Linked DNA regions of Homo sapiens: regions 1, 2, 3, 5 and 6 are each linked to region 4. Evidence: promoter capture Hi-C in human tissues and cell types (Jung and others, 2019). All regions are on one chromosome and are shown on one strand. Each heading gives the region's core, a stretch centred on a gene start or on the middle of the fragment in contact. The rest is flanking DNA. Distances are from core to core; before and after follow the strand shown. Region 1 holds the start of DHRS4L2 (dehydrogenase/reductase 4 like 2). Region 2 holds the start of TSSK4 (testis specific serine kinase 4). Region 3 holds the start of PSME2 (proteasome activator subunit 2). Region 4 holds the start of PABPN1 (poly(A) binding protein nuclear 1). Region 5 holds the start of REC8 (REC8 meiotic recombination protein). Region 6 overlaps NRL (neural retina leucine zipper).

The links. The method cuts DNA at HindIII sites, captures the fragments that hold promoters and counts their contacts. A contact is called where the count stands out against the background at its distance.
Region 1: a fragment that was not itself captured here is called in contact with the fragment with the promoter of PABPN1 in region 4 in 1 of the 25 tissues and cell types used here (stomach).
Region 2: the fragment with the promoter of TSSK4 here is called in contact with the fragment with the promoter of PABPN1 in region 4 in 1 of the 25 tissues and cell types used here (aorta).
Region 3: the fragment with the promoter of PSME2 here is called in contact with the fragment with the promoter of PABPN1 in region 4 in 1 of the 25 tissues and cell types used here (dorsolateral prefrontal cortex).
Region 5: the fragment with the promoter of REC8 here is called in contact with the fragment with the promoter of PABPN1 in region 4 in 1 of the 25 tissues and cell types used here (dorsolateral prefrontal cortex).
Region 6: a fragment that was not itself captured here is called in contact with the fragment with the promoter of PABPN1 in region 4 in 1 of the 25 tissues and cell types used here (IMR-90 fibroblasts).

Annotation. Positions count from the first base shown.
Region 1 is chr14:23,984,868-23,989,807 of GRCh38, forward strand. DHRS4L2 (dehydrogenase/reductase 4 like 2) reads left to right here and starts at 4,062. Exons shown (of 8, transcript NM_198083.4): 1 at 4,062-4,208. The coding sequence starts at 4,081. RefSeq lists an enhancer at 3,598-3,657 and a silencer at 3,828-4,077. The HindIII fragment of the contact is 5,367 bases long and covers 1-4,658 here.
Region 2 is chr14:24,203,692-24,208,343 of GRCh38, forward strand. TSSK4 (testis specific serine kinase 4) reads left to right here and starts at 2,005. Exons shown (of 4, transcript NM_001184739.2): 1 at 2,005-2,457; 2 at 2,818-3,032; 3 at 3,425-3,818; 4 at 4,273-4,557. The coding sequence starts at 2,233. The coding sequence ends at 4,455. RefSeq lists an enhancer at 1-536. The HindIII fragment of the contact is 2,603 bases long and covers 411-3,013 here.
Region 3 is chr14:24,143,009-24,147,859 of GRCh38, forward strand. PSME2 (proteasome activator subunit 2) reads right to left here and starts at 3,602. Exons shown (of 11, transcript NM_002818.3): 1 at 3,526-3,602; 2 at 3,200-3,232; 3 at 2,702-2,764; 4 at 2,371-2,457; 5 at 2,235-2,265; 6 at 2,050-2,147; 7 at 1,392-1,460; 8 at 1,184-1,251; 9 at 967-1,021; 10 at 577-663; 11 at 357-481. The coding sequence starts at 3,573. The coding sequence ends at 401. RNF31 (ring finger protein 31) reads left to right here and starts at 4,490. Exons shown (of 21, transcript NM_017999.5): 1 at 4,490-4,851. The coding sequence starts at 4,691. It overlaps MIR7703 (microRNA 7703), which reads right to left and starts at 557; the gene lies at 481-557. RefSeq lists silencers at 3,648-3,707, 4,408-4,497, 4,528-4,757 and enhancers at 4,018-4,087, 4,225-4,725, 4,272-4,566. The HindIII fragment of the contact is 10,846 bases long and covers 2,245-4,851 here.
Region 4 is chr14:23,317,964-23,322,787 of GRCh38, forward strand. PABPN1 (poly(A) binding protein nuclear 1) reads left to right here and starts at 3,494. Exons shown (of 7, transcript NM_004643.4): 1 at 3,494-3,857; 2 at 4,218-4,332. The coding sequence starts at 3,507. It overlaps BCL2L2-PABPN1 (BCL2L2-PABPN1 readthrough), which reads left to right. Exons shown (of 8, transcript NM_001387346.1): 4 at 4,218-4,332. RefSeq lists enhancers at 2,585-3,235, 2,924-2,993, 3,247-4,058, 4,059-4,824 and silencers at 3,394-3,823, 3,884-3,953. The HindIII fragment of the contact is 10,317 bases long and covers 1-4,824 here.
Region 5 is chr14:24,169,840-24,174,752 of GRCh38, forward strand. It overlaps REC8 (REC8 meiotic recombination protein), which reads left to right and starts at 2,241. Exons shown (of 19, transcript NM_001048205.2): 1 at 2,241-2,769; 2 at 2,874-2,942; 3 at 3,060-3,202; 4 at 3,287-3,359; 5 at 3,452-3,572. The coding sequence starts at 2,714. RefSeq lists enhancers at 1,653-2,153, 2,222-2,471 and a silencer at 2,002-2,051. The HindIII fragment of the contact is 13,606 bases long and covers 1-4,913 here.
Region 6 is chr14:24,077,961-24,082,650 of GRCh38, forward strand. It overlaps NRL (neural retina leucine zipper), which reads right to left. Exons shown (of 3, transcript NM_001354768.3): 2 at 4,508-4,690; 3 at 702-3,608. The coding sequence ends at 3,276. CPNE6 (copine 6) reads left to right here. Exons shown (of 17, transcript NM_006032.4): 17 at 1-127. Among named protein-coding and RNA genes, the nearest start is that of CPNE6, 8.7 kb to the left of the region's middle. RefSeq lists enhancers at 2,810-2,859, 4,292-4,690 and silencers at 3,170-3,489, 3,700-3,869. The HindIII fragment of the contact is 4,734 bases long and covers 1,074-4,690 here.

The sequences.
Region 1 (4,940 bases), core at 725-3,224, 670 kb after region 4:
GATTAACATGGTAATAAAGACAAATGAGTACATATGGAAGAAGGGGTCAGGGGGCTCATTTCTTCTAGGGAACAAGGGCCCTGAGCTTCTATACCCCTTCGTATTTACTGAGTAAAGGAGATAGGGAGAAAGGGGTGGTTGTCAGTAAGCTGCTTGACTTAGTGTAGGCTTGTATGACTGCATTCTTTGAACAGTAGTCTCCAGAGGTTCCAGTAGATAACCTCAAGGAGCACAGCACCAGGGAGTAATTGCCCTCAGCAAACCTCCTGGTGGCAGGTGCAGAAGCGAGTTTGCCCACATTTTGCAATCATGATAAACAGTTGGCTGTTTGATCATATAGCCTTCAGTGGAATGCTGAGTTGGTCACGACCCTCAGGCCTTTGGCTCCCTACATTAAAACACCCATTTCACCAGATTAAAAATATTCAATAAAATTTCTAAAAAGCACTTAACACTTGCCAGCACTTACTAAGGAAGTGCTCAATAAATGCTGTTAACACTCTTACTATTATTTCTCTGCTTGGCAGTTGTCCTAATCCCACACCAGCCCTTCCACATAGCCTAATCCTGACTTGTGTCAGTGATGCATGACTCAACAGTGAATCTGGGACAGCTATTGCAAAATGCAAGACTTAAAATCCATCCCAGATGAATTCTCTTCTGGACCGCAGGCAGCCCTTGAAAAGGATGAGAGTAGAGCCCTCAATCATGGAGGCATTTGTCCCTCAAGATAGGCAGATGTTACCACCTCCATACAAGAACAATCCCATTGCCTATTACAGTTCCCATTTCAGAGAGATACTCCCACATATGTATGTATTTCCCTGAAAGGTTTCTTGTTCCTCTTCTTTTTTTATTTTTTTGAGATGGAGTCGCTCCTTCTGTTGCCCAGGCTGGAGTGCAGTGGCATGATCTCAGCTCACTGCAACCTCTGCCTCCCAGGTTCAAGCAATTCTCCTGCCTCAGCCTCCTGAGTAGCTGGGATTACAGGCACATGCCACCAGGCATGTATTTTTAGTAGAGACAGGGTTTCACCATGTTGGTCAGGCTGGTCTTGAACTCTTGACCATGCCCAGCTAATTTTTGTATTTTTAGTAAAGACAGGATTTCACCATGTTAGCCAGGCTTGTCTCAAACTCCAGACCACACCCGGCTCATTTTTTTATTTTCAGTAGAGACGAGGTTTCATCATCTCAGCCAGCTGGTCTCAAACTCCTGACCTCAAGTGATCTGCCCACCTCAGCCTCCTAAAGTGCTGGGATTACAGGCATGAGCCACCATGCCCACCCCAAGATTTCCTGTTCTTATCTCCAATAAGCCAGCTTGATGAGGAGTAGCGCTAGAGATTCCCATACTTCTTGACTTCCTTCTATCCTTTTCTGCTCACAGGCCCCCTGTGAGAACACTGCATGTTCTCACTCATAGGTGGGAATTGAACAATGAGAACACTTGGACACAGGGTGGGGAACATCACACACTGGGGCCTGTCGTGGGGTGCAGGCATGGGGAAGGGATAGCATTAGGAGGAATACCGAATGTAAATGATGAGTTAACGGGTGCAGCACACCAACATGGCACATGTGTACATATGTAAAAAACCTGCACGTTGTACACGTGCACCCTAGAACTTAAAGTATAATAAAAAAAAAAAAAGAAAGAAAGAAAGAAAAAGAAATAGTGCTGGAGGCCAAATAGCAACCCTGCCCACACAAGGAAGGGCCATGTGTTGTTCACCAAGCTCCCAAGCCACAATTCTCTTTTCCCAGAATCCTTTGCTCTTTGAAGTGTGGTCTTCCTCACTTTCCTGGAACCCTCAGCCCCTCAGTGGGCCCGTCTACCTCTGAAGAGAAGAGGAAGAGAGATCAAATACCCCCCTGGAGGCTTGTCCCTTTGAACCAAGCCCTGAGAACCCCCGCAGCAGTCCTCCTGTGTACCCTCCCCCCAGCCCCACACAGATGGAGAGCCCTGGGAAGGGTTCCCACAGTGCATGAGCTCCAAACAGTGCAAGAGCACAAGGAGTGTGGCGCTTCCAGCCTCTGTCAATAATTCATGAGGCTCAGACTGAGGAGCACCAGTCAGAGTCAGCTTTGCCTGGACATGGGGAAAATTATACTGCAGCTCTCCTGTCTCATCGGGATGTGCTGAGTAGCAAAGCAGAGTGCTGCAGCTGTAACTTCTTGGCTGAGGAAAACACTAGAAATCCAGTGCAGGCCTGTTCTATTACTTGCTCGCCATACACCCCCTTTTGAATGTTGAAATCCTTGTTTTTTTTCTTTTTGTTGAGACAGAGTCTCCATCTGTCGCTCAGGTTGGAGTGCAGTGGCGTGATCTTGGCTCACTGCAAGCTCCGCATCCCGTGTTCATGCCATTCCCCTGCCTCAGCCTCCCGAGTAGCTGGGACTACAGGCAAGTACCACCACGCCCGGCTAATTTTTTGTATTTTTAGTAGGGACGAGTTTCACCGTGTTAGCCAGGATGGACTTGATCTCCTGACCCCGTGATCCGCCCGCCTCGGCCTCCCAAAGTGCTGGGATTACAGGGTGAGCCACCACGCCCAGCTGAATGTCCAAATCCTTTTTCAGCTGCTCAGCTGACCTGCACATATACTAAATGAATCTTGAGCAAACATGAATTCTATTCAAAAGTCATGCCTAGAACTGGATTTCACAAACCAGGATTCTTTCCCCTCTAATTGTAGGGACTGGCATAAGGCTGCCAAACTGGTGATTTCACCAATAACACATCTCTAAACCTACCCATCTGCTTTCATCATCTTTTCTGAAACAAAACACTAACACACACACACACAAAAAGAAGGAAAGGTATACTCCACAATAAAGGACTGTTAAATAAGCTTAGCTTTATGAAACTCACTGTAATTGTTTCCTTTTCTCATTTTGCTTTGAACTAGTGAAAACGCTGCCATGAACCAGCACTGCTTCTCAGTCTGGCTTTGGAGGCCAGTGGGTTAAACTAATTCAGATACTTACCTTTGGGTCTGTTGCGGCCTTTCTACACTGTACCATAAGCCATCCATATTTATTCATTCTCCCGGAAACCCAGGAGGGAGATCATTTCAGCCCACTTGGCAGAAGTGGAGACTGAAGTCTTGGACACAGAATTTATAGCTGGCAAGGACTTTATTCATCATCCATACCCTCAGTAATTTACAGATGAAGAGTCTGGCCCAGGGCACCAATAATAATCACTACATGGTGGCAGTAACTACTATGTGCTTAGTAGCTTACAGTTCATAAAGAGATTTTGCATTCAACAAATATTTATTGAACTAGGATGGAGGCTAAGACCTGGGGACAGAGTGGTTAGGGAGAACTTGAGTGCCCCGAGTTCTTTGCATTTCCACCACTGCTTGAGGGACTGTCCAGCCTCCTCGCTACCACTTAGCCCCTGTAAAGGAGGAAGTCCCTTTGGCGAGGGATATGAGATCCTGTTTTGCCAATGACCGTAGTCTGCCCTCCAAGGGCCCGTGAAGATGGAAGAGACCTTGGGCAGAGTGAAGGGCAGTGCCAGGCCTGGCGCAGCTACTGCCTATCACGTCTCTCTCCCAGGCTGCTCCAGCCTCACCTGGTGGACTCCATGGGGACCACAGGCCTCACCTCCATGGGCAGTCTCAAAACATTTGCCCTCCTGTGGGCTGTCACATACATAGACCCAGACTTTCTTGGAGAAGGAATTCTGAAGAAGCAAAAGCAACCAACTCAAAACCCCCACTTCCCCAAGAAGAAAACGTGGACAAGCAGATGCAGAAGGGCAGCAGCCAAAGTCTGCGGGTTCCTGCGGGGGCCAGGGGAGGGGCGAGCCCTACAGGCAACTTGAACGGAGAGCGCTTTGATCACTCACCAGCCCGGGAAGGCAAGCCCCAGTCAGGCGGAAGGTAGCTGGCTGCGGGGCGGGGCGACTGGCGGGCGGCGGGAGGCGCCAACCGCCACAGACGACTCCCAGCTGGCCGAGGGCGGGAAGGGGGCAGGCAGGGAAGCGGCCCGCCCTTCGTCCTGCCCCTTCGCCCTACTCTGTCACCTCCGCTGGAAGGAGTGGAACCCAGACTTGCTGGTCTGATCCATGCAGATGGCCAGGCTGCTAGGCCTCTGTGCCTGGGCACGGAAGTCGGTGCGGATGGCCAGCTCCAGGATGACCCGCCGGGACCCGCTCACAAATAAGGTGGCCCTGGTAACGGCCTCCACCGACGGGTGAGTGTTGGTGCCGGAGTTTCTGAGGCCCTGGCTGCCTGGAAACATGCACTGGTGTCTCGTCCTTTGCCTCCAGTGCCCCTGTCCTCAGACCTCACATACCGCCAAAGTCTGGCCATGGAAAAAAAGTAGCCACGTGGTCCGCCTGAAGCCCCTCCGAATACCCTGGCCCTCCCTTGCCAGCCCTTCTGTCCCTGCTGCCTCTGGCACAACTGTGCCACCTCTGTGCAGCCCCATCGATCTAGTCCCCCCAGTGTTCTGGGCTGCCCCAGTCAACCAGCCTTACCTAGCCTCTGGGAAGACCAGAAACTGGAAATGCAAGGGAATCTGGATTCAAAATCTTATAACAAGGCCTCCAGCTTTTTGAAAATGTACCATTCTATTTGGGCTCCAGAAAGTGTCCCGGAACCCCTCCCCCTTACCTAGATGGGACACCAGAGCCATGTGTCGAGACTTTTTTTTAGGTCGGTACATCTGGGCCTACCTTGCCCAGCCTGTTTCTCACCCACCTCTCTTGTCAGTCCTGGTTCTCATTTCTACAGGACTTTGCTAGATGCCAGCTCTTCACAAAACTAAAATACAAATGTAGATAAAATGCTAATGGCTGACAACTGCAGAATGTGTAACTCTTCTTCCCAAGGCAATATTTACGTTTTTGACCAGAGACCATCTTTTCACATGCACCCCAAAAAATAATTATGGAAAGAATTTTGAGAATGATGTAGACTAGTA
Region 2 (4,652 bases), core at 755-3,254, 880 kb after region 4:
TGGAGGTTGCGGTGAGCCGAGATTGTGCCATTGCACTCCAGCCTGGGCAACAAGAGCGAAACTCCATCTCAAAACAAAAACAGACGGGGCGCGGTGGCTCATGCCTATAATCCCAGCACTTTGGGAGGCCAAGGTGGGCAGATCACCTGAGGTCGGGAGTTCAAGACCTGCCTGACCAACATGGAGAAACCCTGTCTCTACTAAACATACAAAATAGCTAGGCATGGTGGTGCATGTCTGTAATCCTAGCTACTAGGGAGGGTGAGGCAGGAGAATCGCTTGAACCCAGGAGTTGGAGGTTGTAGTGAGCCAAGATCGTGCCATTGCACTCCAGCCTGGGCAACAAGAGCGAAACTCCATCTCAAAAAAAAAAAAAGAGAAAAAAGGTCCTATGCCAAGTTCTCAAGGAAGATTTGGAGTTTGCCACAAATACAGAAAAGCAGTTGTGGATCATTACGTGTGTGTTAAAAAATAAAATTGGGGAGGTAAGCAGGATCAGACTTAAAGCTGTGTGAAAGAATTTGGATGGACTTGATCCTAAAGAGAATGGGGAGACACTGAATTGTTTCAAATGGAAATAAAATCAGATTTATGCTTTGGACTTGGGATGGACAGACTGGAGTGGAGCAGAAGGCTGGCGGGGGCCATCTGTTCGATGATGGAGGCGTGAACTAAGGGATTAGCAGTGGGCTCAGAAAACCATGAGAATATTATCAAAGAGAGAATCAGGAGGTATAAGAGATAGGATTTCGTGATAGATTGAATGTAGGGACTGAGGCAGGAGGGTCTGGGATGACATATGAGTGTCTAAATTAAGGGTGATTAGTGTACAACTCACAGAAAAGTCTGAGAGAAGAAAATAAGTTCAATTATTGATATGGTTAAGTTTGAGATGGATATGGTAAGTTCCATGCCTGGGGCAGACATGGCCACGTAATACTGGCTGCTCTATCTAAACTCCAGATATATGGGATGGAGATGAAATTAGGAGCAGTCAGCATAAATGTAGTATTGACACCATGGGTATGGACAAGATTAAGGGAGGATGTGAAGGTTTGAGAAAATAAAGCTTGTGATGTAACACTTGGGATATGATTAAGGGATGGATAGAGAAAGATATAACTTCAGTGAAGGCTGAGGAGTGACCAGAAGGATGTGGAGGAAAACTAGAGAGTTCTGGCTCATAGAAGATAAGGATGCATTTCAAGGTTAGATTTTCCTAGAACATGTTCAATACCTTACAATGGTAATACTTTCACACTCGTATTTCTCATGCTGCATTATAAGCTTTAGGATCATAGTGTCTCTATTGGCCTTATTGAACTAAGGGGGCTGCAATGGGCTCGGAAAGCCTTGAGTGTATCATTAAAGAGATAAGTAGGAGATAGCAGAGACAGGATTTGATGAAAGATTGTATGTAGGGATTGAGGAAGGAGGAAGGGTCTGGCATGACATTTGGGTGACATTTTATCCAAGTATTCAGCACAGTGTCTGGTACTTAGTAGGTACTCATATATCAATGAAAGGTCTGATCTTTAGGAGTTTCACCAGACTGTGGAAGGTGCCTCTGGGAATGAGTACGTTTCCAACTGCACTTCATTCTCTTTTTTTTTTTTTTTTTTTTTGAGACGGAGTCTCGCTCTGTCGCCCAGGCTGGAGTGCAGTGGCGCAATCTCGGCTCACTGCAAGCTCTGCCTCCCAGGTTCACGCCATTCTCCTGCCTCAGCCTCCCAAGTAGCTGGGACTACAGGCGCCCGCCACTACGCCCGGCTAATTTTTTGTATTTTTAGTAGAGACGGGGTTTCACCGTTTTAGCCGGGATGGTCTCGATCTCCTGACCTCGTGATCCGCCCGCCTCGGCCTCCCAAAGTGCTGGGATTACAGGCGTGAGCCACCGCGCCCGGCCGCACTTCATTCTCAAGTTTTGTGGCCAACGATGGATAGGAGGTGGATTGTGATGTATTCGGAACATGGGACCTTGAGGAGTTCCGTAACCAAAAGGAGAAAGTAACAACAGCCAGTGGAGACAAAAAGAACTGCTTCTCTTTCTTTCCCCCTCCAAGTTCCTAGTGGAGGGCTGAGTCCAGCATCCCAGACTCGTGTGACTATATAGGCAAGCATTTGGGGACCTACTTCACTTTGATACCCTAGCCTTCAGCAGCTCAAGGTGTTGGCCTTTGGATAGGAGGCTTCCAAGTAGTAAAGCTCCCTGCTCTCAGCAAGCCCAACACCATGGGGAAGGGAGATGTCTTAGAGGCAGCACCAACCACCACAGCCTACCATTCCCTCATGGATGAATATGGTTATGAGGTGGGCAAGGCCATTGGCCATGGCTCCTATGGGTCGGTATATGAGGCTTTCTACACAAAGCAGAAGGTTATGGTGGCAGTCAAGATCATCTCAAAGAAGAAGGCCTCTGATGACTATCTTAACAAGTTCCTGCCCCGTGAAATACAGGTTGGAAAGGGGGCTGGAAGAGGGAACTGGAGCTTGGTACTAAGCTGCTTGAGGTTTCTCAGAAGGGGTATGGCCAGGAGGGGTGGGGCCAGAAACCCCTAAACCAGAACTGAAATGTCTCACTAAGCAGCTAGGAAACTTTATGTAAGTTAAACCTCTTTCCCATCCACCCACTCACCTTCAGTCCCCAAAAAGTAAAGGCACAAAACATAGCATTTGCCCACAGGCCACCAGTTCTCTGGGGTTGAGGGGCTGATCCTATTGCAAAGTCCTAAGTCAGTAGCTGAGGGTAGGAGACGGCTGGGAGTGCAGTCAGGGTTCTCCCTTCCCAGGTTTGATGGGTCCTTCTTCTGGGGTCAGGTAATGAAAGTCTTGCGGCACAAGTACCTCATCAACTTCTATCGGGCCATTGAGAGCACATCTCGAGTATACATCATTCTGGAACTGGCTCAGGGTGGTGATGTCCTTGAATGGATCCAGCGCTACGGGGCCTGCTCTGAGCCCCTTGCTGGCAAGTGGTTCTCCCAGCTGACCCTGGGCATTGCCTACCTGCACAGCAAGAGCATCGTGCACCGGTGAGGGCGCTGCCACCCAGACTGGGGCCTTTGCCCTCAAGGGGGTTTTATGCACATCTCCCATTTCCTGTCCTTTTTTCCTCTTTCGAACTCCCTCCTCAATATCTAGCCTATTCATGCACTCTATTTTAATCATATGGTCAAGGATACTGATAAAGTACTCACTGTATGCAAAGCATTTTATGAAATACAATGGTGAGCTCCCGGTGGTCCTCAGATACCATCCTCTGTCTCTCTCCCTACTTTGGGCTCTGCTCACAACTCCATGGCTTTCCTTCCTCTCTACCTTGTGCCCTCATAATGGTTTCTACCTCCCACTTCCTCTGTCCTCATCTTTACCCTCTGACCCCTGGCCCTTCAGCTCCCAGTCTAAAACTAAGCCCTCTCCCCAGCCTGATGCCCAGCCTTTCTGCTGCTGGTAGGGACTTAAAGTTGGAGAACCTGTTGCTGGACAAGTGGGAGAATGTGAAGATATCAGACTTTGGCTTTGCCAAGATGGTGCCTTCTAACCAGCCTGTGGGTTGTAGCCCTTCTTACCGCCAAGTGAACTGCTTTTCCCACCTCAGCCAGACTTACTGTGGCAGCTTTGCTTACGCTTGCCCAGAGATCTTACGAGGCTTGCCCTACAACCCTTTCCTGTCTGACACCTGGAGCATGGGCGTCATCCTTTACACTCTAGTGGTCGCCCATCTGCCCTTTGATGACACCAATCTCAAAAAGCTGCTAAGAGAGACTCAGAAGGAGGTCACTTTCCCAGCTAACCATACCATCTCCCAGGAGTGCAAGGTACTGGCTACCTAAGGAGGGCTGAGCCTTCAGGGATGACCCACAGGGAGGGGTGAATATCCAACCTAGGTCACCCAACCTAGGCCTCCCAACCCTGGGGAAAGGCTCTTCCCACACCAGAGCCATCTCACACACTAGCTCCTGTCCTATAATAAACAGTATGGAAGGCATAAAGGGCCAACCACTAGGCTCCAAACCTTGCCTGATACACAGGTTCCAGCTTCTTTCTCTTTAGGCCAGAAGGGAAATATGGAAAGCATTCCTCCCAAGGAACTCTTCCCTTCCCCTCCAGGGAGTTAACTGCCTGGGTCTCCAAGATAAAATCAGAGCCACACCCACTTTGACCAGAGTGGTATGATGGGCTATCCTGCTTCTTTCTTAGGTCCAACTGCTCATTGCCTGTGTGGCACAATGGAGAAAAACTCAGGCAAGACCTCTCTCTCCCCTGCTCTAGAACCTGATCCTCCAGATGCTACGCCAAGCCACTAAGCGTGCCACCATTCTGGACATCATCAAGGATTCCTGGGTGCTCAAGTTCCAGCCTGAGCAACCCACCCATGAGATCAGGCTGCTTGAGGCCATGTGCCAGCTCCACAACACCACTAAACAGCACCAATCCTTGCAAATTACGACCTGAAAATGGCTGAGGGAGGGGGCTAAGAGAGGAGCAAAGCAGGAGGTCTTGGGCTAAAAATCTTTTTTACCAAAAATAAATCTAAGTCTGATTTAGTTTCATCAACTAGGGTCAAAGACATTCTTTTCTCAAGGCAATCTTATAGCAGGGAACACTGCTGGAGTAAGAGATAGATTTCTGCCCAGAGCCTGTAACCAATA
Region 3 (4,851 bases), core at 2,352-4,851, 830 kb after region 4:
TAGGCACTCAGGGTGAAGGACTTGGACTATAAACCCAATGGAGAAGATAGCCCTTCAACCTCTGTGACTTTTCTAAAGCTACTTTCCCCCCTTTTTGCCTTAGATGGAAACAGATAAGCAGGAGAAGAAAGAAGGTAAGTGAGATAAGAGGTGACTAGGGAAGGGGAGATGGCACATTGACTACTGGATGAGAAAGGGCCTGAATCCCCTCTTTCTCACAGTCAAGATTACAGTGGGCATCTAAGTCATCTTTGTCTTTGTGACACCCACCCCTTCCCACCACATTCATCTTCAGGCTGGACATAGGTGCCACTCAATAAATGCTTTTTGAATGAATGACACACGCCAGAAGGGAATCCACACAACATATAGATCATTTATTTTCCTTCTAGTCCCGGGTTCAGTACATAGATGGCTTTTCTTCACCCTTTGGGTTGACAATTTTCTCCAGGTTGCTGCTGATGATATGATAAAGCTCAGCCTGGGAGAAGGCCAGAGTGCAAGAGTCAGGTTCTTAGCCAATCCCCTGCCTGCCCCCACTCATCCACCTCCCCTAAAGCCTTACTCCACACTCACATAGAAGGCCCTCAGGTCCAGCACCATGGCCCTGAGCTCCCCATAGGCTGCCTCATCTCGCTCATGCACCAAGGCCCGGTAATCCATCTGCAATGTGGGAGGCAAAGCTGAGTCAGTCCCATGGGAGGCTGGGACATGAGTCTGGTTTCCTTTTATAGGAAATAGGTTAACTTGAGAATGAACCCCTTCTTAGCACCAAGAAATAGGATCCCAAAGGACTGAGCAGAGAAAAGGGTCAAGGTTGTTGAAGCCCAAACCAGTTTTTCTAGGTAATGCTTTTAGCTTAATATTCTCCACATTGGGAAAGTCACAAACAAGACAAGGAGGACTTCTTCCTCCACACCTCCTCGTCCCACACCCAGCTAAAAGGCTGGTGGACTATCCACTCACTACATGAGTCTCCTTGGAGGCCTTGGCCACAGCATCCCCACGTTCTGAGAAGTACCTGCCAGAAGCAAGGGAATACCACAGGAATGAGTGTTCAGGGAGATGTACTCCCTCAGACCCTTCCCAAAGTCTCCCATCATCCTGATAGGGCTGCCCAGCTCTGGGGGTCCCAAAGAAATGCTCCTACTGCCCCCAATGCTGGTCCTCCAGCTGCCCTCACTTGGAAATGGTTGTCTGGAAAGCTTCCACTTTGGTCTTGACGGCATTCACCCTCTCCAGCACCTTCTCCTGTGGTGACACGGGAGGCAAAGACAACACTTCATGTCCTCCCCATTTCATACACTATCTTCCTCCTCCTCCTGGTTCATGTCTAGCTCACCCCCTGAGGCTCTCCCCACTCTAAGTATCTTCAGTTACCCTTTTCTTACCTGGATTGCTACCCCAAAATCATTTCCATCTTCAATCTTGGGGATCAGGTGTTGGATCCATGTAATCACCTGTGTTAAGAGGTATCATGTAAGAATCATTCAACAAACATACTGAGTTCTTCCTATTACTGTCACTTCCTAAAAAAAGTTATATTTAATTGGGTACTTATTACATACCAGGTACTGTGCCATGTATTTATTTCATGTAATCATCACAGCAACCTTCAGAGATATGTATTTATTGTACCCATTTAACAGATGAAAAAACTGAGTCACAGAATGTCTAAGTGACTTACTTAAGGCTACCAGCTAGGTAACTGATAGAATCACGATTTGAACCTAAGCAGTCTCTCTCTAGGGTCCAATCTTTTAAAACAATTCACTCACTATATCATACCACCTCTACTATGAACCCAATACAGCAGTAGGTTCTGAGGTTACAGAGTGGATACTGCACAGTCTCTAATTTTGGGGGTACCGTTGTGATAAGAGAGGTCTAACAGAACGAGGAGAACAAAGGGGATCTAAGCCCAAGGCACAGAAGGAAGTTTTCTTTTTCAGGACTAGGTCTCTGTATGAAGGACTTGTATCTACGGAGGAGTCCAGGGCCTCACCTTGTGTGTCTTCTCTTTCTGCTTCCCCCATTTCCCAGGCTTACCAGAATGCATTTCTCTTTGAGAGTCCAGACTTCTGGCTTAACCAGGGCAAGCAGGGACAGGACTTTCTCATTCCCAGGGAGAAATCCACACTTATGGACTGTGAGAAAGAGGGGATTCAGGCCCTTTCTCATCCAGTAGTCAGTGTGCCATCACCCCTTCCCTAGTCACCTCTTATCTCTCTTACCTTCTTTCTTCTCCTGCTTATCTGTTTCCATCTAAGGCAAAAAGGGGGGAAAGTAGCTTTAGAAAAGTCACAGAGGTTGAAGGGCTATCTTCTCCATTGGGTTTATAGTCCAAGTCCTGCACCCTGAGTGCCTCACCTCATCATCCTTGGGTGGAGGGTCTGGGATGGGGATGTCCAGTGGGGCCCGGAGGGAAGTCAAGTCAGCCACATTGAGGGAGTCCTCCTGCACAGAGCTCACTGTCAAGGGCTGCCCAACCTCTTCCCTTCATCCTAGGTCACAGCCTTCCCTCCATACATCCCACTTGCACTCTGCCTCCCAACCTAGGCTCATGCCTCACGCCATCCTAATGTTCCTAATCCACTATTTGAAACTATTCTCTGCATGCTGAATCCAGTTGTTAGCTAGAGAGGGTGGGCAAAGGGGATAGAGGACATAGGATGGGGCAGAAGGGGCCCACACTACTCACTTGCAAGAGCTGATTCAGGTATATGATTTTCTGTGGCAAGAATCTGTAGAGGAATTCCTCAGCCTGTGGGTTACATTGCAAGGGAGGGGAATCACAGAATATGCTCAATGAGATGTCTGACAAATGGAACTGGAAGGGCCTTTGGAAATCACTGGGTCCAAGACTTGCAAATGAGGAAACTGAAGACCTGAAAATGAAAGGACTTGCCCAAGCTGGTAAATGGCAGAACGAAGGTTAGGACTGTGATATTCCTGCTTTGGAAGCCATGGTTTTTTTCCTCCACATCAAAAGACGGGAGAAGTGCCAGAAGTCGGGAGAGTCATAAGAAAGGTCAGATTAAAGGTAGCTATCAATAATTCCGGGGTTACTTTGGGTGAAGGCTTGGTAAGGGAAGTAGGGTTAAGTCTAGGGTGACTTGGGGGGGTCATTCTGAGAGGCTGTTATCCTCAAGTATTGGTCCAAGATTCTGGGTCAAATCGCTCAAATCCAGAGACTTACCTCCTGGAAAAGATTCTGTCTGAAGACCTCCACCTACACAGAGAGCAGTACCCGGATGTTGGTTAAGGGTCTGGGTTGTCAAAAGCTTCCACCCACAACAGGGTGCCCTCGAACTGTGGCTCAGGCCTTTCTCACCACAAACTAGCTTTCCCTGGAAGCTCCTGCTCACTGCAGTCAGAAGGCAGGAATCTGGGAATCCCCGAGAAGTGAAGGCACTAGCGAGATTGGGGGAGTTCTCTGGCACTGCTTGGTCCCCTGAACCACCCAGCTTGGCCTCCACCCAAGAGGGTTCTATGACCCCTTCCTGGCCTCCGATTCCCCATTACCTGTTTGCGGGCTTCCCCGCTCAGGCGCACCCCACACGGCTTGGCCATGCTGCTTCAGTCGCTAGATCTCTGGTCTCCCGGCTAGTCGCCCGGGCTTTCGCTTTCACTCCCCAGGTCCAGGCCCGCCCCCCTCAACCCCGCCCCCTTTCTTCTTTCCGCCCCCCTCCTCCCGCTGGCAGGCCGCAAGCAGTAGGTAGCCCCTCAGCCATTCCCAGCCAGTTGCCACTAGGAGAGGCGGTGCTGGCTGGGTCACAGTCCAGGGGCTGCCCGAGGGAGGGGCTAGGGTAAGTGGGACCGCGGAGACTGGAGCGGGGGCTGTCCCTCGGAGAGGGGCGGGGCTTATAGCTAGGGCCAACTGGAAGTCCAGGGTTGGGGTAAGAGAGGTGGGAGTATGGCAAAGGGGGTATTCAGTGGCGGGGCTCCCCCAAGAAGGCTCGACCGCAAGTAGCGGACGGAGAGAGATCAGAGCGAGTGGGAGGGGCAGCCAGAGGGAGCGCCTGGGGTGGAGAAGGACTAGCAGCTCTTAGAAGAGAGCGGGCAGGGGTTGGGTGAGGGTCTTCCCTCTGCCTTCAGGACAGACCGGAGATGGGGCGGGACTCGCTCGAGAGGGGTTAGGGCCGGCCAGAGTCGGTTCCCCTGCAGGGTGGGACTTCCTCGGTGAGGCCCGGAGCGTACCGGACTGGTCCAGCTAGAAAAAGAAAGGTTTTGAGCTGAATAGGATAACCCCGCGCCTGCGGCTATCCGGAAGGGGTGGAACCAGATTGGGGGAAGGCGGGGAAGAGCGCTTGACTGAGGGAAGATGCTGGCGCGCTCTGAGGGAGGAGCCAGGAGCCATTTGCCTTCTCATTGGTTGGGACCTGGCCCTCCCTCTTGGCCGCGCCCCCTGGTTTCCTGACACCGCTCCAACCTTAACCTTAAGCCCCGCCCGTTCCTCCGAAATTGGGTCGCAGTCCCACCCTCTCTCCTAGTACTTCCTGTTCTCGGCTAACCCTGGCGCTGGGCCGGGGGCTGGAGAGTGACCGTGGTCTGAGTGACCTGGGGCGGCTGCGTGGGCCGGGGTGGGCCTCAAAGCCGGGCACCAGACGGGAGGGGCGGCGCTCGGGCCGCGCGCTGCCCGCGCCGGGTCCTGGCGGGCGGCGAGGCTGGGGCTGACTCCTGCCTCAGGATGCCGGGGGAGGAAGAGGAGCGGGCCTTCCTGGTGGCCCGCGAGGAGCTGGCGAGCGCCCTGAGGAGGGATTCCGGGCAGGCGTTTTCCCTGGAGCAGCTCCGGCCGCTACTAGCCAGCTCTCTGCCGCTAGCCGCCCGCTACCTGCAGCTGGACGCCGC
Region 4 (4,824 bases), core at 2,244-4,743:
GCTGAGGCACAAGAATCGCTTGAGCCCTGGAGGTGGAGGTTGCAGTGAGCTGAGATTACGCCACTGCACTCCAGCTTGGTTGGGCTATGGAGTGAGACTCTGTCTCAAAAAAAACAAAACAAAAACAAACAAACAAAAAATATTTATTCACAAATTGGATTACATTTTTAGAAGAGATAAGAAATAGGATTACTGGGTTAAGAATCTCAACTTTTTTTTTTTTTTTTTGGAGAGAGTCTCCCTCTGTCACCCAGGCTGGAATATAGTGTCGCGATCTTGGCTCACTGCAACCTCCACCTCCCAGGTTCAAGCCTTTCTCCTGCCTCAGCCTCCTGACTAGCTGGGATTACAGGCGCCCACCACCACACCCAGTTAATTTTTGTACTTTTAGTAGAGACAGGGTTTCACCATTTTGGCCAGGCTGGTCTCGAACTCCTGACCTTAGGTGATCCACCTGCCTTGGCCTCCCAAAGTGCTGGGATTACAGGCCGTGAGCCACCTCACCTGGCTCTTTTTTTTTTTTTTTTTTTGAGACAGGGTCTCACTCTGTTGCCAGTCTGAAGTGCACGTAGCACCAATTATGGTTCACTGTAGCCTCAGCCTCCCAAGTAGCTGGGCAGGGACTACAGGCACACGCCACTTTGCCCAGCTAATTTTTGTATTTTTAGTGGAGAATGGGTTTTGCCATATTGCCCAGGCTGGTTTTGAACTCCTGGACTCAAGCAATCTGGCTCCCAAAGTGTTGTGAGCCACTCCGCCTGGCCTTAAGAATCTCACCATTTTAAAAGCTTTTGATATATACTGCCAAAGAATAGAAAGATTGTACTGGTTCTTGCTCCTTTTTTCCTCCCATGCCTAAGTTTTTAAAAAAAATCAGATATAGTTGTAATTATATATTATGTACAATTTTACATTCTTCTTTGGCTTAACAAAATTATTTTCGCATGTTTGTCATACTATGTAACCCTTTTAAGAGATGCATAATAATTTTTTTTGGATATAATTATAGTTTGCTTAAACTTTTGTTTATTGTTGGAATTTAGTCTTGCCATTTTTCACACATAATTTTTATGTATTAAAGCAGGCCTTATAGTAGTAGTGATCTGAGCTTTGAAAGCTGGCTTTGAATTCCCTGCACATTATTATATATATTACATAATATATATTATGTATAATATATATATAATTTTTATTTTTTCCTTTGAGACAGAGTCTTGCTGTTGCCCAGGCGATTCTCCTGCCTCAGCCTCCCGAGCAGCTGGGTTTACAGGCATGTACCACCATGCCCAGCTAATTTTTGTATTTTTAGTAGAGATGGGGTTTCGCCATGTTGGCCAGGCTGGTCTGAAACTCCTGGGCTCAGGTGATCCTCCCGCCACAGCCTCCCAAAGAGCTGGGATAACAGGTGTGAGCCACCACGCCCAGCCAGCCCTGCACACTTCTAATTAGTCCAATGACTTAGGCAAGTTTCTTCATTTCATTAAGCCTTTTTCTTTTTCCCTAAAAAAGGTTATGGTTTTGGAAATACTTTCCCCGTGGGGTTGTTGTGAGAGTCCAGTGAAATAATAAGGAGTGGTGCTTATTACAAAATCAAACGCTCAACAAAAATAGGATTCAAAGCCATTTTTAAAAATCACATTTCCTTTTGTTGGCTTGATTAAATTGGGTACCAATAAGATTAACAAATCTTGATTAGGTTAAGATTAGTATAAAAGACCTTTCTTCCAGGGTATTCAATCATTTAGAGCTTGTCTTCGGTGCTCAACTTTAGTTATCCCAGATCACTGAAGCTGAGATGGCTGATGAAGTAATTTGCAGTGAAATTTTAAGCGACTGTGACTCTGCTGCAAGTTCCCCAGATCTTGAGGTAAGGAATTGTGAGAAAAAGTGGGGGTGAGGGGAATAGTGGGGTATAATGAGTCACTTGATTTTTTGGTTTGCTAATGAGGATCTTCTCTTGTCCAAATCCCTCGGCCAACCATGTTTGTTTAACTTTTTGGTTGGGCTATATGTATCTTTCGAACTGTAGGTTAGTGTGCCCACAAAAATTTCTCTTGCAAACGTACACTGCCATTCCTTTCTTTTTAATAAATGTGTAGGACTGCTACCAAAATATGGCAGTCCTGCCTTCCAGGGCTAGGTCTCATTGGTACTTGGGGTGCAGGGGTGTAGTGGGAACCTGCCAGGAGAAATTCCTCTGGGATCTTGGGGGCTTGAGGGCTTAAATGAAGGGTGGCACCCAAATCCCCAATCAATGCCTGTTCAATCAACAAACATCTAACAGGACATTATGTGGTAGGCATATTGCCAGGCCGTGGAGATGCGAATATAAATAGGAACCGGCCCCTCATCTGCAGGCGCTCACAACCTAGTTAGGAAACAGTAAAACAATTAAGCGCGCCGTGGAGATAGGCCCACTTGTCCTGGGAAATGAGGGGAAGCTGGGGTTTGCAGTGGTTTGATTGAAGGGGGACTACATGTTAGAGGCACAGACTGGGTGCAGGTACACCCAAAGGAACGAGAAGAGTGGAAGGAAACAACATCCACAAAGTAACCACATGCTGGCGTATCGAAGGCCGTGATTTACGGTTTTGAGACTTTACCTCGCCAGCAAAGGGGGGCCAGTCTGTTAGCGGTGCAGATTGGAGGGGTGACATTGGAAGCTGTCCAGGAAAAAGAAAATGGAACTGGGGAGCAGAAGGCCTACGCAAGAGGGCGGGACAGACAGGACTTGTGACTAGTAGCTCTGGACTGAGGAATCCTCCCTGCTTTCTGGTGCGGGAGAGCTAGTGGATGATGGTGCCAATAACCTGGATGGGGAAAGTAAGCTCCCTCCTGGAATGCTTCATTCACAACCTCCATTTTCAGCAACATCCCATCTACTGGTGCTTCCTGGTCGAGATACAAGTTTCCTGAAACTGCTGCTCTGTTTTGGGCCTCACCCGGCCAACAGCTCACTAGCTGGCAAGCAGTAGTATCAAGATGGCGGCCCCCTAGGACTGGCTAGTCATGTGACCTCGGGTTTCCCAAGTTTGAAGCCCGGCAGTCCTTTCGGGGGCAAGGTTCACCTGTCACGAAACGAGTGTCACCCCTTCGACTCTCGCAAGCCAATCGGCATCTGAGACTGGGCCACTGCGGTGAGGCGATCGGAAGATTGGTCCTTTCCAGTCGCCTAGCTAGGGCCAATCACGGAGCGTCCCATACTTCGCGGGCCCGCCCGTAGGCCGGGGAGAAGCAGGAATATCGTCACAGCGTGGCGGTATTATTACCTAAGGACTCGATAGGAGGTGGGACGCGTGTTGATTGACAGGCAGATTTCCCCTACCGGGATTTGAGAATTTGGCGCAGTGCCCCGCCTTAGAGGTGGGGCCTTATTTGATTGCCAAGTAATATTCCCCAATGGAGTACTAGCTCATGGTGACGGGCAGGCAGCTTGACTAATGAGTCCTCGGCGTGGCCGGCGCAGCTCTCCAATCGCCGGGCGGCGGGCCCCAGTCTGAGCGGCGATGGCGGCGGCGGCGGCGGCGGCAGCAGCAGCGGGGGCTGCGGGCGGTCGGGGCTCCGGGCCGGGGCGGCGGCGCCATCTTGTGCCCGGGGCCGGTGGGGAGGCCGGGGAGGGGGCCCCGGGGGGCGCAGGGGACTACGGGAACGGCCTGGAGTCTGAGGAACTGGAGCCTGAGGAGCTGCTGCTGGAGCCCGAGCCGGAGCCCGAGCCCGAAGAGGAGCCGCCCCGGCCCCGCGCCCCCCCGGGAGCTCCGGGCCCTGGGCCTGGTTCGGGAGCCCCCGGCAGCCAAGAGGAGGAGGAGGAGCCGGGACTGGTCGAGGGTGACCCGGGGGACGGCGCCATTGAGGACCCGGTGAGGGAAGGAGGGCGAGCGAGCAGGCCGGCGGCTGGCCGGCCGGGTCACTGGAGGCCCAGAGCTCGGGCGAGCGGGTGGCAGGCGGGGGGTGGGGTTGGGCGGGGAATAACGTGGCTGGGGCCGGGTCGGGCCGGGGATGGGTCAGCGATCACTACAAGGGGCCCGACTGGCTTGATTCGGGCGTCACGGTTGCCTAGTGTTGTTCTAGAGAGGGTAGCTTTTCTTTTATCACGACCCTCGCATGGGGCGAGGGAAATGGCCGAGCATGGCTGAGGCCGCGCTCTGGCCGAGAGCAGGGCACAGCCCCTGCGTTGGTTCCTCTTAAGCTGTCCTCCATACCCTCCCCACTTATATTAGGAGCTGGAAGCTATCAAAGCTCGAGTCAGGGAGATGGAGGAAGAAGCTGAGAAGCTAAAGGAGCTACAGAACGAGGTAGAGAAGCAGATGAATATGAGTCCACCTCCAGGCAATGGTGAGTAACTGGCGGTTGCACGCGGAGCCCGGGTTCTCGGGTTGGAAGGGTTGTGGGGAGGATGGGGAATGTGGGGTTAGATACTCGGCACCCTGGAGCTGCTTGTCTGAGCTATTATGACTGTGCCGCGGTCATAGTCCGTTGTGTGTTCCTCTGACCTTTGTGAGGCAGAACGTATATTTTGGTGGTGGTAGCCTTGTGCCTCCCTTTGTGCCTGTTATAATTGTGTTGCTCTTTGTTCTTAGTCTACGTCTATCTTTCTTTGTAGAGGTTGCGTGCTCGCATTTGACCTTCAAATCTAATAGTTTTTCCTCCAATTGGAGACGCTTTAGGATTCTAAGAGAAAGCAAGCTGCAAGGGGTTTCCCCTTTAATCTAGAAATGTGGAGTCTCAGCCCACTTAATTTTGCTCACTCTTAAAAGCATTTCAACCAAAGCCATTCATTAGGGATTTGATTTGGAGGCAGGAGGGATTCCTATACTGTTTTAAGTG
Region 5 (4,913 bases), core at 991-3,490, 850 kb after region 4:
TCTTTCTTTCTTTTTTTTTTTTTTTTTGACAGAATCGCCCATGCTGGAGCACAGCAGTGCAATCATGGCTCACTGCAGCCTCGACCTTCGGCTCAATCGATCCTCCTGTCTCAGCCTTCTGAGTAGCTGTGACTATAGGCATGTAATTTGAGAGGCCGAGGCGGGTGTCACCTGAGGTCAGGAGTTTGAGACCAGCCTGGCCAACATGGTTGAAACCCTGTCTCTACTAAAAATACAAAAAAATTAGCCAGGCATAGTGGCACATGCCTGTAGTCCCAGCTACTCAGGAGGCTTAGGTAGGAGAATTGCTTGAACCCAGGAGGCGGAGGTTGCACTGAGCCAAGATGGTCCATTGCACTCCAGCCTGGGCGACAAGCAAAATTCCATCTCAGAAAAAAAAAAAAAAAAAAAAAAAAAAAACTCTCAAATTGAAGGGGACTGTAAGAAGATAGGGTCAGCTCAGCTGCAGTAAGATATAAGTCTCAGGAAGAAGCATGCTCTGGAGTCAAGGCAGAGAAGGACATTCTAGGCCAAAGAAATGGCTGTGCAAAGGTAGGAGGCATAGGGACAAGGGTTATTATTACAACTGTACCTCTTAAATTTACACAATAATTGTTGAGAATATGGCTTTTCCAGGCTAGGAAGTTGTGCTGCATCCAAAAATGCTAAAGTCTATTTCAGCCGGGAGAACACTGACAGCTGGGAAAGGACCACACGTGGCGTGCCCATAACCTAAGTTGTTCAGATTTAGGAAGTGACCCCAGTAAGTCCTTTCGGAGTTTCGTGTAAGATTGACTTCTTCAGCTGGGGGCAGTGGCTCACGCCTGTAATCCCAGCACTTTGGGAGGCCAAGGCGGGCGGATCACCTGAGGTCAGGAGTTCGAGACCAGCCTGGCCAACATGGTGAAACCCCTGTCTCTACTAAAAAATACAAAATTTAGCCAGGTGTGGTGGTGGGCGCCTGTAATCCCAGCTACTCGGGAGCCTGAGGCAGGAGAATCCCCTGCACCGGGGAGGCGGAGGCTGCAATGAGCTGAGACTGCGCCACTGCACTCCAGCCTGGGTGACAGAGTGAAACTCCATCTCAAAAAAAAAAGAAACCAGCCTGGCCAACATAGTGAAATCCCGTCTCTTCTAAAAATGCAAAAATTAGTTGGGTGTGATGGAGGGCGCCTGTAATCCCAGCTACTCAGGAGGCCAAGACACGAGAATCGCTTGAACCTGAGGGGATGGGGGGCAGAGGATGCAGTGAGCCGAGATTGCCGAGATAGCGCCACTGCATTCCAGCCTGGGCAACAGTGAGAGCCTCCATCTCAAAAAAAAAAAAAAAAAATGGACTTCTTCCTCATTGACCTGTGGTGGCTCCAAGGCCATCAAAAAAAAAAAAAATGGACTTCTTCCTCATTGACCTGTGGTGGCTCCAAGGCCATCATCTCACAGCCTTTTTTTTTTTTTTTTTTTTTGAGACGGAGTCTTGCTCCCTTGCCCAGGTTGGAGTGGAGCTGCATGATCTCGGCTCACTGCAACCTCCGCCTCCCAGGTTCAAGCATTCTCCTGCCTCAGCCTCCTGAGTAGCTGGGATTACAGGCGCGTGCCACCACGCCCAGCTAACTTTTGCATTTTTAATAGAGACGGGGTTTCACCATATTGGTCAGGCTGGACTCGAACTCCTAACCTCATGATCCGCCCGCCTCGGCCTCCCAAAGTGCTAGGATTACAGGCGTGAGCCACTGCGCCCGGCCTCATCTCACATCTTTCTTCCTCTGCAGCACACGACACGCCCTAGTTGGAAACAAAGTCGGAGTTTGTGGATTGGGGGAAGGGCGGGGTCTAACCTCAGGTCAGGCGCCGTGCAAGGTACATCTTGGCACCCGGAAGAGGCCCAGTACAGTTGCCCCCGAGGTGACCCGACCTCCCCTACCAATTGAGGCGCCCTTGTTGCCAGGCTTGCGGCGGGGGAGCGGCGGGGGAGCGACGGGGATGCGCTCATTGGTCAAGGAAGGGGCGCCTGTTACTAGAGGCGAGAACCGGAGCCCATTGGTCGGAACACCTCACAATGGACCCCAGCGGCGCGCAAAATCCTTATGATTGGTTTGCTGGCTGCCTCGGGAGACCCTGTTGCCAGGATACTTGGCGTTCCCGACCCGACCCCCGTTCCCCATTGGCTGTCAGGGCAAAAGCCGCCATCTAATGAGGAGCGAGGTGCGGTGCCCCGAAGCGCTCGCTTCCCGCGGTGCGATCTAGTCCTGCAGTAGGCGGCCCGGGGCCACACCGCGGCCGCCCAAGCCAGTGCAAGGCCCAGGGGCCTGACATCGCTCCCAGCGCTCGAGGACCGAGGCCTGCTGTGGAGGACACCGTGCTCCCTCGGGACCTGCTCTGGATTCCGGCCCGGACGTCCCCTTGGAGCTCTGCATCTCCAACCTGGAACCCAACCCAGAAGTCTCAAGTTTGACGCATCACGTGGCGTGCGGATCCACTGAGGGTCCACAGAGAGGGGCGCCCATCTCCTGCGTCTCAGTTATCCTGGTAATTGTGTATCTGCCCATTGTTCGTTGCCTCATTAACTTGGCTTTCTAGGTGCACCCACCTTGCCACCAGAGAAGTCCAAATCCTGACTTCTCTCCAAGGTGTTGGGAATTCTGTGCCCTAAAGAATTCCGACTCAGATCCGAACGGGGATCTGGTGGAATCGAGGGTGAAAGACCAGAGGGACAATGTTCTACTATCCCAACGTGCTTCAGCGCCACACCGGCTGCTTTGCCACCATCTGGTAAGGGCGGGGCCCGTTGGCGCGCGATGGCGGACGCTGCCCGGGATCCCAGCCTGACAGCTCCCCCTCCATCCCCATTCTCCCACCTTCCCCACCCACTTCAGGCTGGCGGCGACTCGCGGCAGCCGGTTGGTGAAGCGCGAATACCTGAGGGTGAATGTGGTGAAAACCTGGTAAGGCCCAGAAAAGGGAAGGAGGGCCTGGTGCGGGGGGTGAGTTAGGGGATGGGGTGGCCAAGACTGTGGGCCCACTCCTGGACGCAGCGGTAATCAGGGCGCATTGTTCCCCAGCGAGGAAATCCTCAATTACGTGCTGGTACGAGTGCAACCCCCGCAGCCCGGCCTGCCGCGGCCCCGCTTCTCCCTCTATCTCTCAGCCCAACTTCAGATCGGTGTGATCCGCGTCTATTCTCAACAATGCCAGTACCTCGTGGGTAAGGCTGGGAACCCTCAAAGGTGGGGCGGGCTGAGCAGCTGTCTGCTAAGCTGGCTGTCTACCTCGTCCTCCCTGCCCACAGAGGACATCCAGCACATCTTGGAGCGCCTCCACCGTGCCCAGCTGCAGATCCGAATAGATATGGAGACTGAGCTGTGAGTGTGCCCTGGGCCTTTGATGGAACACCTGCTAGCTTGGCCTCAGCCTGGCTCAGCCTCAGTCCTTCACGGCCTACATTCTCTCCCAGACCCAGCCTGCTGCTTCCTAACCACCTGGCCATGATGGAGACCCTAGAAGATGCTCCAGATCCCTTTTTTGGGATGATGTCTGTGGATCCCAGACTTCCTAGTCCTTTCGATATCCCTCAGGTAGGGCTCATTCCCCAAGACTCGTGAATTGGCAATGCAGAAGGGGAGTGCTGTCCCTGTGTCACTCTGACATTGGGGTTGGGGAAGGAAGCTTACCACAGCTCTCTCCCACAGGAGATGGTGCAGGGGGACTGCCAAGGTGGACCCATCCAGGCGAAGCCCCCTGTACTTACCTACTCAGGGCCAATCTGATCAGACGGTTTCCCCACTGGAGGCAGCTCTTGTCCCCACTTGTCTCCACACTGTTTTCACTGCCAAGGCCCTAATCCAGGCTCTCATCTCTCTGCACTGGGCTTTCTTACCCCTGTCCTCCTCCATCTATTCCCAATACTCCTACAGCTTAATGTCACCCCCTTCCTTGGTTCCCCATTTGAACAGTGGCTCCTGCTGCAAACAGATTACTAGCATTTGGGGCTCTCCATGCCCCATTTATTTCTTTTTTTATTTTATTACTATTATTATTATTATTTTTGAGACAGGATCTTGCTCTGTGGCCCAGGCTGGAGTGCAGTGGCACGATCTCAGCTTACTGCAACCTCTGCCTCCCCGGTTCAAGCAATTCTCCTGCCTCAGCCTCCCGAGTAGCTGGGACTACAGGCATTTGCCACCATGCCCAACTGATTTTGTATTTTTAGTTGAGACAGGGTTTCACCATGCTGGCCAGGCTGGTTTCGAACCCCTGACCTCATGATCTGCCTGTCTCCTCCTCCTGAAGTGCTGGGATTACAGACATGAGCCACAGAGCCCGGCCCAATTTTTTTAGGGTTTCGCCTTATCGGCCAGGCTGGTCTCGAACTCCAGACCTCAGGTGATCCACCCACCCTGGCTTTCCAAAGTGCTAGGATTACAGACGTGAGCCATCGCGCTGGCCTATTATTATTATTTTTTGAAATGGAGTCTCTGTCACCCAGGCTGGAGTGCAGTGGCATGATCTTGGCTCACTTCAACCTCCGCTTCCTCTGGTCAAGCGATTCTCCTGCCTCGGCCTCCCGAATAGCTGGGATTACAGATGCCTGCCACCATGCCCGGCTAATTTTTGTATCTTTAGTAGAGATGGAGTTTCATCATGTTGGTCAGACTGGTCTTGAACTCCTGATCTCAGGCACTCCACCCGCCTCGGCCTCCCAAAGTGCTGGGATTACAGGTGTGAACCACCGTGCCTGGCACATACCCCAGTTTAGAACTAGTCATCCCCAGACTTCTCTCTCAGTCCTCTGGGCATCTGTGGCTCCTAAACACTAGTTTGGCCCTTATGCCTCAATGATGCCACATTCACATCTTTGCTTGTACTGTTTCCCTAGCCCATAATGGTCACCCCTCATCCTCTACAAGTCGGGTTCT
Region 6 (4,690 bases), core at 2,191-4,690, 760 kb after region 4:
TGGACGTGAGTGGTGGGTCCTGCTCCTATCTCTCCAAACCCCATACCCTTCAATGCTGTGGCCCCTCAGTGACTTCCTTGGGTGATCCTGACTTTCTAGCCATTAATAAAGAGAACTGCTCCTAGCACCTCAGCCTCTAACCATCATGCCTCAGATGCCCACTGGGCAGCCTGCAGCACCCCCACACACACCATAAGAAATGAGGACCAGCACCTTTCAAAATCTGAGACAGAGCTCCCCAGGCAGGCTGCTGTCTCTGCAGTCTTACCCCAGCTATGTGCCAGTGGGATCTGAGGAGCCCCCTCCCTCACCTCCCAACCCCAGGGGGTCTAGGCACCATGGAGAATAATTACAGGAGATAGGAGGATAATTACGGGCTGTCAGGAGGGCAGGCTGAAGCTTTCTTATAGCTGTCTCCAGAGAGGCCCTGCTGAGTCCCCCAGGAGCTGAACCCCAGCCCCCACACAGCTGTGGGGCGGGCCAAGAGCAGGTGCTGGGGGATACTGAAGGAGGGCAGCAGGTCTGCTAGTGAATTGGGAACATAGTGGAGCATCTAAGGCCTATACAGTCTGGTTTCCCGGGTGTGTCAATGTGTGTGTCTGTTCATGGCCTTAATGGGTCACACTCATGGACTCAGGGATGTGCAGTGCATGAACACACAGATTCACACACTTAACAATCACATCAGCAACAACAGCAAATATCATTACGTAGCATGTGTCAACTTTATGCTAAGTGCTTATTTAAATGCATTTATTCTCAGTAGGTGGTTACCATTATTTTCACCATTTTTCTGACAATCAAGTGAGGCTTGATTTTAACCCACCCATGGTCAAAAAACTGGTAGAACTGCAACTTGAAACAGGGTCTCACTCTGCCACCCAGGCTGGAATGCAGTGGCACGATTATGGCTCACTGCATCCCCGAACTCCTGGGCTCAAGTTATCCTTCCACCTTAGCCTCCTGGGTAGGTGGGACTCCAGGTGCATGCCATTACATCTGAATTTATTTTATTTTATTTTTTTGTAGTGACAGGGTTCTCGCTATGTTGCCCAGGCTGGTCTCAAACTTCCTCCTTGGCCTCCCAAAGTGTTGGGATTACAGGCAGGAACCACTGCGCCCCACCTAAAGCACTACTCTTAATCACCACAGTGTGCAACTTTGTTTTTTTAAGTATACTCAGGTAACCCAGGAGTATCATTTTGAGACCCAGGTATGGTACTGTATATGTGGCCTAGTTGTGTGCTCAGGTGTCTATGGATGGTTCTGTCTGTCTTTGTGTGCCATGCAGGTGAGAAAAGTGAACAAGAAAAGTAGTGGGTCTGAATTACAGCTCCAGGGCAGGCAAGGATAGACACAGGTGAAATTTAGAGTGAGAGAAAAAGAGCTGGGCTCCCGGAAGGACCCTCCCTGCCCCATCCTCTCCCTTCAACAATGAGTGTGGAAGGGGATGAAGAAAGAGAAGCTAAAGGTTCTGTGAGCCCCTCAGAGAGAGAATCCAGAGCCAGAGAGGATGGCCAGTGGCCAATGGTGGGGAAGGGAGAGGAGACGAGAGAAATTCTGAGAGCGATGGAGGAGAGGACTCCCATTGCAGGCTCCTAAGCGGAGGAGGGATGAGCTGGGATAGAGGAGGGGAAAGAGGGAGCAAGAACTGTGATGGGAAGAGAAGAGACAGCTGGGGAGGGGGTGGAGAGAGGGGGTAGAAAGGAAGAGGGACATATGGGAGCCTCTTCCCCCATGCCCGAAAGCTTCTCCCATTTATTATGTCCGGTAGAGGACAGATGACAGTAACTCGTGAGGCGGCTGCTCCCAGCACAACGCCTGTGCTCTGCCCAGAGGCCCCATCTGCCCTCCCCTTAGCCTGCTGAACTGGAGGACTGGGTTACCATGGAAACTGTGAGACCTGGATAGCCACTGACAGGCCGAGCTGGGCCACTGAGGCTTCTGAGTTTGGTGGTGGTGGTGGTGAGAGGGGGAGGATCCATCTGTTCCAATGCCTGCCCCTCCACCCCATTTCCATTGGCTCTCCATAACAGATGTGCCACCCAGCTCCAGGTGGGGACTTCCCTTTTTCTTGCTCTCTCTCTCTCTCCCTCTCTCTCCCTCTCCCACACACAGACACACAAACAGTAGCCTGAAGCAGGGATAAAGAATGAACACTTCTTAAATTGCAAGAACATTTAGCTTATTGCATTAGAATTCTGCCTGGACTTCAAGTTTAATTCACAAAAGCTGCACTCTCTCAGCAAATTGTCATCCCAGGAGAAGTCTCACCTCAGCCCTCAGAGAGGTGGGAGGTGGCAGGAGCACCCTGTGCAGGTCTGGAGGCCCAGACAGCCTGGAGGGAGCTGCCGAGGACCCACGTATGTGCTCACAGAGAAGCCAGGCTTCCTCGCCTGGGCTGTGCATCCCCTGCCTAGGCTGCAGCTGGGAAACTGCAGCAGGATAGGAGGTGCCTTTGGCGAGATTGTCTTGGGGACTTCTTGGGGAGACCACCGGGACTTCCATACTGGGGAGATGCCAGAACTGGAAAGGGAGCAGAAGTCGTCCAATCCACATGAGAATTAGATGAAGTAACACAAGTCCAGGAAGCAACTGATTTGCTCAGGGTGACAGGGGGATCCCATGGAAGAGCTGGGACTAGGACCCAGGTTTCCAGACTTCTGCACACAGCTCTCTCCCAACCCACACCAACAACCCCCAGAGCTCACTCTTCAGGCCTTTGCTGCTCTGAGCCCTGAAGGCCACAGGGTTGGGCAGGGAAAAAGCATCTCGGATAGAGGTCCTAATCTATCTAGTTGTTGGATATTGAAATCTTGAAAATTCTGTAGTGCTAAAATGGGGAGGTTACAAGCTTCAGAATGAAAATACAGCCTCATTGCTAATTACAGCTTTAATGTGTTACAGGTTGAAAACCCTGAATTAAAAACTAAACTGAGGTGGGAGCTGCAACCCTCCTCCACCTCCCATTCACTGTGTCACCACACTTCCACCCCCCAGTGCCTGGCACTGGTCCCTGCAGAGCTCAGCGTGCTAGTCATGTGGGCTGGGTTTCTGTGTTCGTAAGGGGAGGGGACCCCTCTCCAGAAAATGACCAGCATCTAAATTCGGGCATGACTTGAGGACCCAAAAGCTTTGGGGATATTTGCGCGGTCATACAGGGCGTGGCTAGGACCAGAAGGCGCTCTGGTAACGATGCAGAGAACCGTGCAGCCGCCTCCTGGGCGGAGCCACCCCACCCAGCCCCCACTACACCACAAGGTGCTCTGAACGGCTCAGAGGAAGAGGTGGGAGGGGTCCCCGGACCCGGGGCCGCTCGAGGTTAGCCGGTCACAGCGAGCCTTGTAGAGATCGCGCTCCCGGGCCAGGCGGGCCACCTCGGCCCGCAGCGCGTCCAGCTGGGCGGCCAGGCGGGCGCGCTCGGCCTCCAGCCCGCGCCGCTGCTGCAGCCGCTTGGAGCGACAGGCCTGCGCGTAGCCGCGGTTCTTCAGCGTGCGGCGCCTCTGCTTCAGCCGCAGCGCCTCGTCGCGCCCGCAGCCCCGCAGCTGCCGGTTTAGCTCCCGCACAGACATCGAGACCAGCGCCGCGTCGGAAAACCGCTCTGCCAGCTGCGGAGGGAGAATGCAGAAACCGGGTCAGCGCCAGGTCGCACCCGGCTCTGCCCTGAGGGCCCGACGCTACCTGGCTCCGCCCCGGGACAGCCCCGCCCCGGCTCCCACCTTCACCGGAAGGCTCGCCCTTCCACGCAGTCTGTTTCGGTCCAGAGCCCGCCCCAGGCCCCGACGCTCCCCGGGCCCCCCAGCTGACCGTTGCTCCAGTCAGGCGGGCGCCCCACGGTGCAGGGCCGGCCACGGTCAGGCGAGCCCGTCGCGCACCTAAACCCCGGGCTCGTCTCTGGGATCCCCGGCATCCAGCTCCAGGCCCGGGTGTGTCCAGTGGACCCGCACCCAGACAGCCCCCAACCCTCCAACGCGCTGCGTTTCCCTGTCCTGAAGCCTGCAACCCGGTGACCCTCACAGGATTTGGATTACATCCTAATGCCCGCAACACCCCCATCTGTGTCTGTAATTAATAGGATGAGTCCCAATCCTTCCTGAGAAGGTTGGGGGCTGGGAAGCACGAAGTCTTGAAAAGGCCAATCTAAACCAGTCTTAACCCAGCTCCACTCCACACATAACCCTTTCCCTGGTTTCCACACACCATGTATCTGTTTACCCCCCGGAGTCGCCCACTCCCCAGCTCAATTCTTCCCTTTGGATTCTCTGCTAATCTTATCTTCTCCCTGCTCCTCCTGGTTCAGCCTACTCATTTCTCTCCATTTTAAGAAAAGGGGGAGAAGCAGAATGTAGTTTTCTCGATCTGATTGCTTTCAAGGGACCTTCTCCCCTTCTCCTGCCCTCTGTCCCCTGTCCCAGTCCATAACCCCCTCTGGGAGCTCCCCTTCCTCTCTTGGGCAGTCCTCCTTCCTTGCCCTGCCTCCCCTCAGGCCAGCTTGCTGACCACTCACCTGGACGTGCTGGGCTCCTGTCTCCTCTGGGCTCCCTGGGTAGTAGCCATGGGGCCCATCAACAGGGACTGGGCCCTGACCCTGCAGCAGCTCCATGGCCTCTTCAGGACTCAGCCCCAATGCCTCCCCAGCCCCCAGCTGCTGCTGCAGGGTAGCCAGCCAGTACAGCTCCTCCAGGCCTGG